Linked DNA regions of Homo sapiens: region 2 is linked to region 1. The links are contacts of gene promoters, found by promoter capture Hi-C in blood cells and fetal thymus (Javierre and others, 2016). All regions are on one chromosome and are shown on one strand. Each heading gives the region's core, a stretch centred on a gene start or on the middle of the fragment in contact. The rest is flanking DNA. Distances are from core to core; before and after follow the strand shown.

The links. The method cuts DNA at HindIII sites, captures the fragments that hold promoters and counts their contacts. A CHiCAGO score of 5 or more calls a contact.
Region 2: a contact is called between a fragment that was not itself captured here and the fragment with the promoter of RAB11A in region 1, in 1 of 17 cell types (megakaryocytes). The highest score is 5.5, in megakaryocytes.

The regions. Positions count from the first base shown.
Region 1 is chr15:65,867,799-65,871,912 of GRCh38, reverse strand. It overlaps RAB11A (RAB11A, member RAS oncogene family), which reads right to left and starts at 2,422. Exons shown (of 5, transcript NM_004663.5): 1 at 2,288-2,422. The coding sequence starts at 2,327. TRQ-CTG1-4 (tRNA-Gln (anticodon CTG) 1-4) reads left to right here and starts at 2,780; the gene lies at 2,780-2,851. RefSeq lists an enhancer at 2,549-2,608. The HindIII fragment of the contact is 828 bases long and covers 1,745-2,572 here.
Region 2 is chr15:65,816,616-65,820,729 of GRCh38, reverse strand. All of the region lies in intron 1 of LOC105370866 (a long non-coding RNA gene), which reads right to left. It also overlaps the pseudogene HNRNPA1P44. Among named protein-coding and RNA genes, the nearest start is that of DENND4A, 26 kb to the right of the region's middle. The HindIII fragment of the contact is 494 bases long and covers 1,885-2,378 here.

The sequences.
Region 1 (4,114 bases), core at 1,173-3,672:
AACCACAGTAACTTCTTTCACATTATTACCATTTATTGAGTCCTCATGGTTAAAATTTTACGAACAGTCTCATTATTTAATTCTCACAATCTTAAGAGGCAGGTATTTTCCTTTTTATAAAGTAGAGAACTGAGACTCAGAAAAGTTAACTTTTCCAAGGTCATAAAGTAAATATAAGACCTGAGTCAGGATCTAAACCGAGGTCTACGTGATTCCAAAGCTCAGTGCTCTCAATTGTTGCTAGAAGGATGGTCTAATCAAAAAGTTAAAATACTTTAGGCCAATTCAGAATATTTAATATTCTTTGTTAAAAAATAAAAGGACCTTGTATAACCAACATTCAAGTTCAAACCAAACAGGAGAAATACCCTGACGGTCTATCTTGTTCTGAATTAATTACTTCAAAGACAACCTTTATAAAAGCACACTACCATTATACCATATTTCAAAACACAAACCTAACCTTTAACCCCAAAGTCTCAAGAGATTCAAATAGTTTCACATCATCTCAGATACCTTCGGCAAAAGGTATGCTGTCATATACTTTTTGTAATCCAGGCCTCAGTTTTGTATTTGTAAAATGAACTAAGTACCCTGAAAGTACTTTCCAGTATGGAGGGGGAGGGTGGATACCAAAAGTATTCACCCTATACAGTAGAATATTCTGAGTCAGAGGAGTAAGAGATGATAAGAGTATAACAGCAGACTAGTTAGTATAACAAGATTTGCAAAGTATTGGGAAAGCAAAGAAATCTTTCCTGCTTGGTTTAGTCAATCATTCTTAGCACCCAATGGCAAAGACAGAAACAGTCACCATGCTTAACACTCTTGAAACTCCACCCTCCACAGTAAAGCTTTAATAGCAATGGCTTCTTCCTCAGTGGTAATGATCTTTGTTCGGCACACTACTGATGGCTACCTTCCCAATTCAGGAGCAGAGAAAGAGCATCAGAGTGAGAGTGCATTCACTGAACAAAAAAAGCATCTACTGTACTCTCTTCTCATTGAAAAATGTACCCTTTATCTTCGTTGATTAAAAAAAAAAACCGGATTCCTTCCGGACTCAACCAATAAGCAATTCTTTCTAACCAACCCTGACCCTCCAATATGTTCTGTCCAAGGGCACTACATGTTTCCGTATCTTATAATAAATATTTAATGTAACCAAAAGAGCACACAACTTCCTCCCACCCCCAACCTTTTGGGAAAGGTATGTGGCTAACTAGGGCTCTTCCCTTCCTGTTGGATCCTCCCAGCGTTGCAGCAGGAAGCAACCAGTTCATAGAGATAAAGCAAGCTAGTATTTGTGCAGCGCACAACCTTTCCTGCTCAGGAACCAGGCCTTCAGGTCTGGCAAGGATAACAGCCACCACCCATCCGCAACCTCATCTCGCGAACCGAGTAAAGAGTTATCCCGGGTTGGGTGCCACTGAGTAGGGAGGGCAAGAAAAGAAAAGGCTAGGTGGGAAGTAATGTCAGCCTGCCGGGTCACTGCGACAAGTGCGCGAGTGGGTGATGGGCGATCCCTCTTACCCTCCCTCCCACCACCCAGGTCGCAACGGAGACAAGGGAGCTCTAAACACGATTTGGGGAGGGAAGGTAGAGAGAGTTGCCAAATGGGGAGTGGGAGAGGGAGCGGTCAGAGAAGGTTAAGGACCGCGAGAACCGCGGGGCGGAGGGTGGGGGCGGAGGCCCTTGGCCCGCTCAGATTTTACGGGGTCCTGGACCCGGGATGGGAGAAGCTTAGAGGGGCGGCCGTCCAAGTGGAGGGGAGATACAGAAGAGACGCTCGCTCGAGGGGGGAAAGAGGGCAGATAAGAAAAAGACCTGTAATGGGAGTCTGCACCGAAGGCAAGGCCAAGAGGGAAGCGAAGAACCCGTCAGAGGGGCTTCGGGAGAGGACGCGAGCTGGGAAGGGTGTACGCCGAGGGGGAGGGGGCGCTACACCCGAAAAGAGAGATGGTGGGAGGAGCGGCGGGGCCGTAGAACCCGGGGAAAGGAATTCGACGATGTGGGAGAAGGCAGTCCGCCAGGGGAAGGACACGCAGGGAGGGGCTCTGAGGCCAGCGAAGGCCTATGGAGAGGTCGCTCAGAGAGCGGCATGTGATGGGGACCCCTGTCTGAGCGGGGGAGAAGAGGCTGAGCTGGGTAGGAGACGGAACCGCACAAAAAGGAAGGGCTGAGGGAGGCCTATATCAGTGCAGGGGTGGCCGGCACGAGGGTCCACCGGGAGTGGCCCGGGTCCCCGAACGAGGACTGTGTAGAGTGCGAGAGCCCATGGCCTCACCTTTAAAGAGGTAGTCGTACTCGTCGTCGCGGGTGCCCATTGCGCGGCCGAGGAGCGAAAGGGCGGGAGCAGCAGTGGTATCTGTGGGACCAGGGGGCGTCGCTGCAGGGGTAACCCGAGCGCCGAGCTTCAACTGCCGGACTGGGTGAAGAGCCCCTCCCTGCCGCTGCGCCATTTCCGGCAGGCCCCAGCCTTTAAGGGGAAGTACTTCCGGGGGCGGCGCCCCGCCCCTGAGCCCAACAAGGGCGGTGTGCGCGAGAGTCGAGATGCGTGGGGCTTCAAGCTTTAGTCGCTAAAGGAGGCTCAAAGGGGAAACTGAGTCCTGGAACTCCTAGCTACCATAGTCTTAGTGGCCGCTTGCTCATTTCTCGAGCTACCGTGCCGGAAGCGGCTCGCTGGAACCAGGCGGGACCGCCTGTGAGTGGTGGGTTTGTGGATGGGGGCGGGGTTCTCTGAGGATTAGACAGCCGAAGGCAGCTACACATGCGTGGCGGTTCCATGGTGTAATGGTTAGCACTCTGGACTCTGAATCCAGCGATCCGAGTTCAAATCTCGGTGGAACCTGCATTGGTTTTTGTTTTTTTAATCTTGACAACATCTTTAATTCACTTTTTTGGTCACTAAGTAATTGAACAACTATGACACATCTTAAGATGGAGATGTAAAATTTAATCCTTGCCTATGAAGACCTCACAAATTTCCCACTGCATTTCAGGTGCTATCTGCTACCTGGCGGGGGGTTGTCTTAATGAGCTTCTTCACTGCCTTTTTTTTAACCCTGGGCTTTCAAGCCTTGATTCAAAAGCTTCAGTGAAACTTGAAAATTCCTTTTGCTGGAATTTTCTACCTCCAGCTTCATGCACGGGTAGGCGCTTGTCACTCACTCCTCTCCGGAAATCTCGCAATCTATCTCATTTTCATTTAGAGTACTTCGCCCACCCTCCTCATCAAGATTCATCAAGAACTTGAGTCCTATTTGTAGGCCTCTAATCTAAGTCCGTTTACATAAGTATTTCATTTAACATGCCAAGCAAAGGATGGTAATTTCCATTTTAGCGGAAGTTTGGATACTAAGACTCAAGTGATTTGCCAGATATCATGTCGCAGGGCCTCCCTGTATTTGAAGAGAATTTTGTCATTCCAGAAAAGCCTTTATCCAATTATTGTCACACCTCCTACCTCCTATATGCAAACTCTCGATTTAGACTTGTGGGCAAGTATGCCTATAACAAGCAGAATAATGCCCCCTGCCAATGATGTCCACTTCCCAATTCCTGGAGACTGAATAGGTTAGGTTACATGGCAAAGGGGAATTGAGGTTACAGATGAAATTAAGGTTGCTTATCAGCTGACATTAAATTAGGGATATTATCCTGGATTAGTTGGGTGGGCCCAGTGTTGTCATAAGGTCCTTAAAAGTAGAAAATGGGCTGGGCACGGTGGCTCAGGCCTTAATTCCAGCACTTTGGGAGGCCAAGGTGGGTGGATCACCTGAGGTCAAGAGTTCAAGACCAGCCTGGCCAACAAGGTGAAACCCTGTCGCTACTAAAATACAAAAAATTAGTCTGGCGTGGTGGTGGGTGCCTGTAGTCCCAGCTACTCTGGAGGCTTAGGCATGAGAATTGCTGGAACCCGGGAAGCGGAGGTTGCAGTGAGCTGATACCACGCCACTGCACTCCAGCCTGGGCAACAGAGAGAGACTCGTTCTCAAAAAAAAAAAAAAAAAAGTGGAAAATGGAGGCAGAAGAGGTCAGAGTGATGTGACTTGAAAAGACCTCAATCTGCCCTTGCTGGCTTTGAAGATGGAGGAAAGGGCCCAGGAGCCTA
Region 2 (4,114 bases), core at 882-3,381, 51 kb after region 1:
TCCAGCTGGGGGACAGAGCAAAACTCTGCCTCAAAAAAAAAAAAAAAAAAGAAAGAAAAGAAAACAAAAGCATTATTATTGGACGGGGTGCAGTGACTCATGCCTGTAATCCCAGCACTTTGGGAGGCCAAGGCAAGCAGATCACTTGAGACTAGAAGTTTGAGACCAGCCTGCCAACATGGTGAAACCCTGTCTCTACTAAAAATACAAAAAACAGCTGGGTGTTGTGGCAGGCACCTGTAATCCCAGCTACTGGGGAGGCTGAGGCAGGAGAATCACTTGAACCCAGGAGGTGGAGGTTGCAGTGAGCCAAGATCGCGCCACTGCACCCCAGCCTGGGCGACAGAATGAGAGCCTATCAAAAAGAAAGAAAAGAAAAGAAAGGAAAGGAAAGAAAAGGAAAGGAAAAGAAAGGAAGAGAAAGAAAGAGAAAATAAAAGAAAGATTAAAGAAAAGAAAGAGAAAGAAAGAAAAGAGAGAAAGGAAAGCATTAAAAGCATTATTATGCTCTATATTCAGATTCAACAGATATTTACTGAGCACATATAATCTTTAATGTATTTTGCTAGGTGTTATGGAGAACTACAAAAATATAGCAAGCATGGGTTCTACCCTTATGAACATTCAGTCTAGCAAAGAAGCAGTATAGTATGGATATCTACATAAAAGATCATAATATAAGCTATAAAGTATTAAAAATGACACCATTTGAGTTAAAAGAAAAAAGATGCTATTCAAAAAGCTCAGAGGAAAAGTTAGCTTCTAGTCAGGGTGGTGTCAAGGAAGCTTGGTGGGAGAGTATTTATACTAGAAGGATTAAAAGAAGTAGGATATCATGACTAGATAGGTTTAGTCATACAGCGGATGGGGCAAGGGCATTTTAGATAACCATAAGGACAAGGACCCTGAACTGGGAAATTATGCTGCATGTACAGGGAGTGACTGTGCAGTCTGACCAAAGAACAGGGCAAGTAATGAAGAAACTGGGGCCCCGGGTGGTTATGGATTACCCAGAGCCATAGCACCAGACAGCCCTAGAATGGGCATTGAATCCCAGGCGTTTTCCTTCTTTAATGCTCCCACAATATGACCAAGTCAACATTTTAGTCACTGCTCTGCTTTATTTACAACAACCCATTATATATTGTCCATTAAGTAATTGACTCAACAAACACTTATCGAATATCTAGTACACTCTAGGCATAATTGGATGCTATGGTCTCCAAGGCTGATTTGATATGTGTTATAAAATACTTTTTCCCAAGTGGGGAATAGGGCTAATATTGGGCTAAGACAGATTGTCTTTGTCTTTGTTAAAATTTTATAGAGTTATACTTCAGAGCAAATACTATAAACAACAAAGACAATTAAATAAACCACAAAAACAGATCTCTGTATCATGTTTTTCTACACGACATCAATACACTGAGTCTTAGCAATGACTGCCCATGTGTTTTTTCCATAACTATGCTTACTTATGTTTTAGCAAGGGGTAATACAGAAGGATATGAAACCCTCCATCCTTGAGCGAAAGTTTAAAAACATTTCTAGTATTATAGTAGAACAAGACTCACTTCCGTTTAGCTTATCAACCACCAAGAGACATTTCCCCTTTGTACTTGTTATGTTTTAGTGTAACTATGGAGACACAGCACTTTCCATGCAAGTGACACACATGATTTTGGTTTAACATACTCATTTTCTGAGAAACATTTTAAAATGTGGTCACTATTTTAAAAATTGTGGTCACTATGAGATCTTTGAGCTACTTTGGTATTTCAATGTAAATCCATACATTTGTTAGCAATATTCATTGAGGGAAGAGTTAAGTACCACGGATTATGGATTCTTTCTGATTCCATCAAACTATTCCTAATTAAAGCTTTGGTGCCAGAAAAAAAAAGGTAATTATGAATTGAACAAATTGGGCTATCAGATATTTTTATAAATCGTAGGGTATATCAAGTTGAGTTTTGAGAGCTCTGTTTCCAGGTATATGGCAGGCTAGGAATTCACACTGCACCTCCCACTGGAAACAATTAAAAAGGCTGAATTAAAAAAAATCTTAAACCTCTTAGAAGCATTGAGCATGGGCAAGAAAGAAAGAAATTATTAGGTCAAAGAGAAGTGAAGAAGGAATCCAGACAGGTAAGTGGACAACACTGTCCAGGTGTACAACACCAGGAGGCACCATTTGGATTCTATTCACCTAAATGATGCTCTTGGGGTTGTTTGATGCTATGGCCCTGAGATCACTTTGCCCTAAGGGCATTTGCTCAACCTGGTGAACTGCAGCTTGGGCTTCACAATGGTTCCAGAGACAAGGTAAAGCCGAGGGCTTGGAGAATCCCATTGGAGACCATTCTCCCAATAAAGCTTGGACCCTTTAGGTGGAGATGAAAACCAGCATATCCATTCATCCTCAGGGTACTGCACAAAAAGTTCCTGTGGAACTAAGTAGAACTAAGTACTAAAAAATACTGTCACTGAAAGACTGACTTGTGATGATCTACAGCCAAAACAGGTTCATAAAAGCCTCAAGCTATTACTCTAAGTTGAGTAGGCAGGCCCCAGGTGCGTGGAAGAAACAAATACAAATCTTCTCTGGAGGAAGGTACCTCAATAACTCACAAATTATTTTCTAAGAAAATTGAGCAGCTCACAGTAACAAACATTAAGCACTCAAAGAAATGCTACTATATAAATGAAAACCAGAAGAAAGAAGAAATCACATACAATAGAATTAAATGGAAAACATCTACAAATATTTGAGAAATTTAAATTATCACACATACAAGGTGAAAAAAACATTTTACTTCTTTTTTTTTTTTTTTGAGACAGAGTTTTGCTCTTGTTGCCCAGGCTGGGTGCAATGGCGCGATCTTGGCTCACAGCAACCTCCACCTCCTGGGTTCAAGCGATTCTCCTGCCTCAGCCTCTGGAGTAGCTGGGAGTAGTCATGCACCACCACGCCTGGCTACTTTTGTATTTTTAGTAGAGATGGGGTTCCTCCACTTTGGTCAGGCTGGCCTCGAACTCCCGACCTCAGGTGATCCACACTCCTCAGCCTCCCAAAATGCTGGGATTACAGGCATGAGCCACCGTGCCTGGTCACCATTTTACTTATTTAAGAAAAAAAAAAATACAAAGTAGAAAATACCTATTTATTAGGCTCATGAACCCCACGGAGGGAGCATCGTTAAAGTCTCTCTTCCCCCTGCCATCATGTCTAAGGCGGAGTTTCCTAAAGAACCAGAACAGCAGAGGAAGCTCTTCACTGGAGGGTTGAGCTTGGAATGAGAGCCTGAGGAGCCATTTTGAGCAATGGGGAACGCTCACAGACTGTGTGGTAATGAGAGATCCAAGCACCAAGCGCTCCAGGGGCTTAGGGTTTGTCACATATGCCCCTGTGGAGGCAGTGGATGCAGCCGTGAATGCAAGGCCACGCAAGGTGGATGAAAGAGCTGTGGAAACAGAGAGCTGTCTCAAGAGAAGATTCTCAAAGACCCAGTGCCCACTTAACTGTGAAAAAGATATTTGTTGGTGGCATTAAAGAAGACACAGGGCCTGGCCCAGTGGCTCACGCCTATAATCCCAGCACTTTGGGAGGCTAAGGTGGGCGGATCACCTGAGGTCGGGAGTTCAAGACCAGTCTGACCAACATGGAGAAACCCAGTCTCTACTAAAAATACAAAATTAGCCGGGTGTGGTGGCGCATGCCTGTAATCCCAGCTACTCCGGGAGGCTGAGGCAGGAGAATCGCTTGAACCTGGGAAGCGGAGGTTGTGGTGAGCCGAGATTGCACCATTGCACTCCAGCCTGGGCGACAGAGTGAAACTCCGTCTCAAAAAAAAAAAAAAAAAAAGACACTGAAGAACAGCACCTAAGAGATTATTTTGAACAGTATGGAAAAATTGAAGTGATTGAAATCATGACTGACCGAGTCAGTGGCAAGAAAAGGGGCTTTGCCTTTATAACCTTTGACTACCATGACTCTGTGGATAAGACTGTCATTCAGAAATAACCATACTGTGAAGTTAGGAAAGCCCTGTTAAAGCAAGAGATGGCTGGTGCTTCAGCCAGCCACAGAGGTCAAAGTGGCTCTGGAAACTTT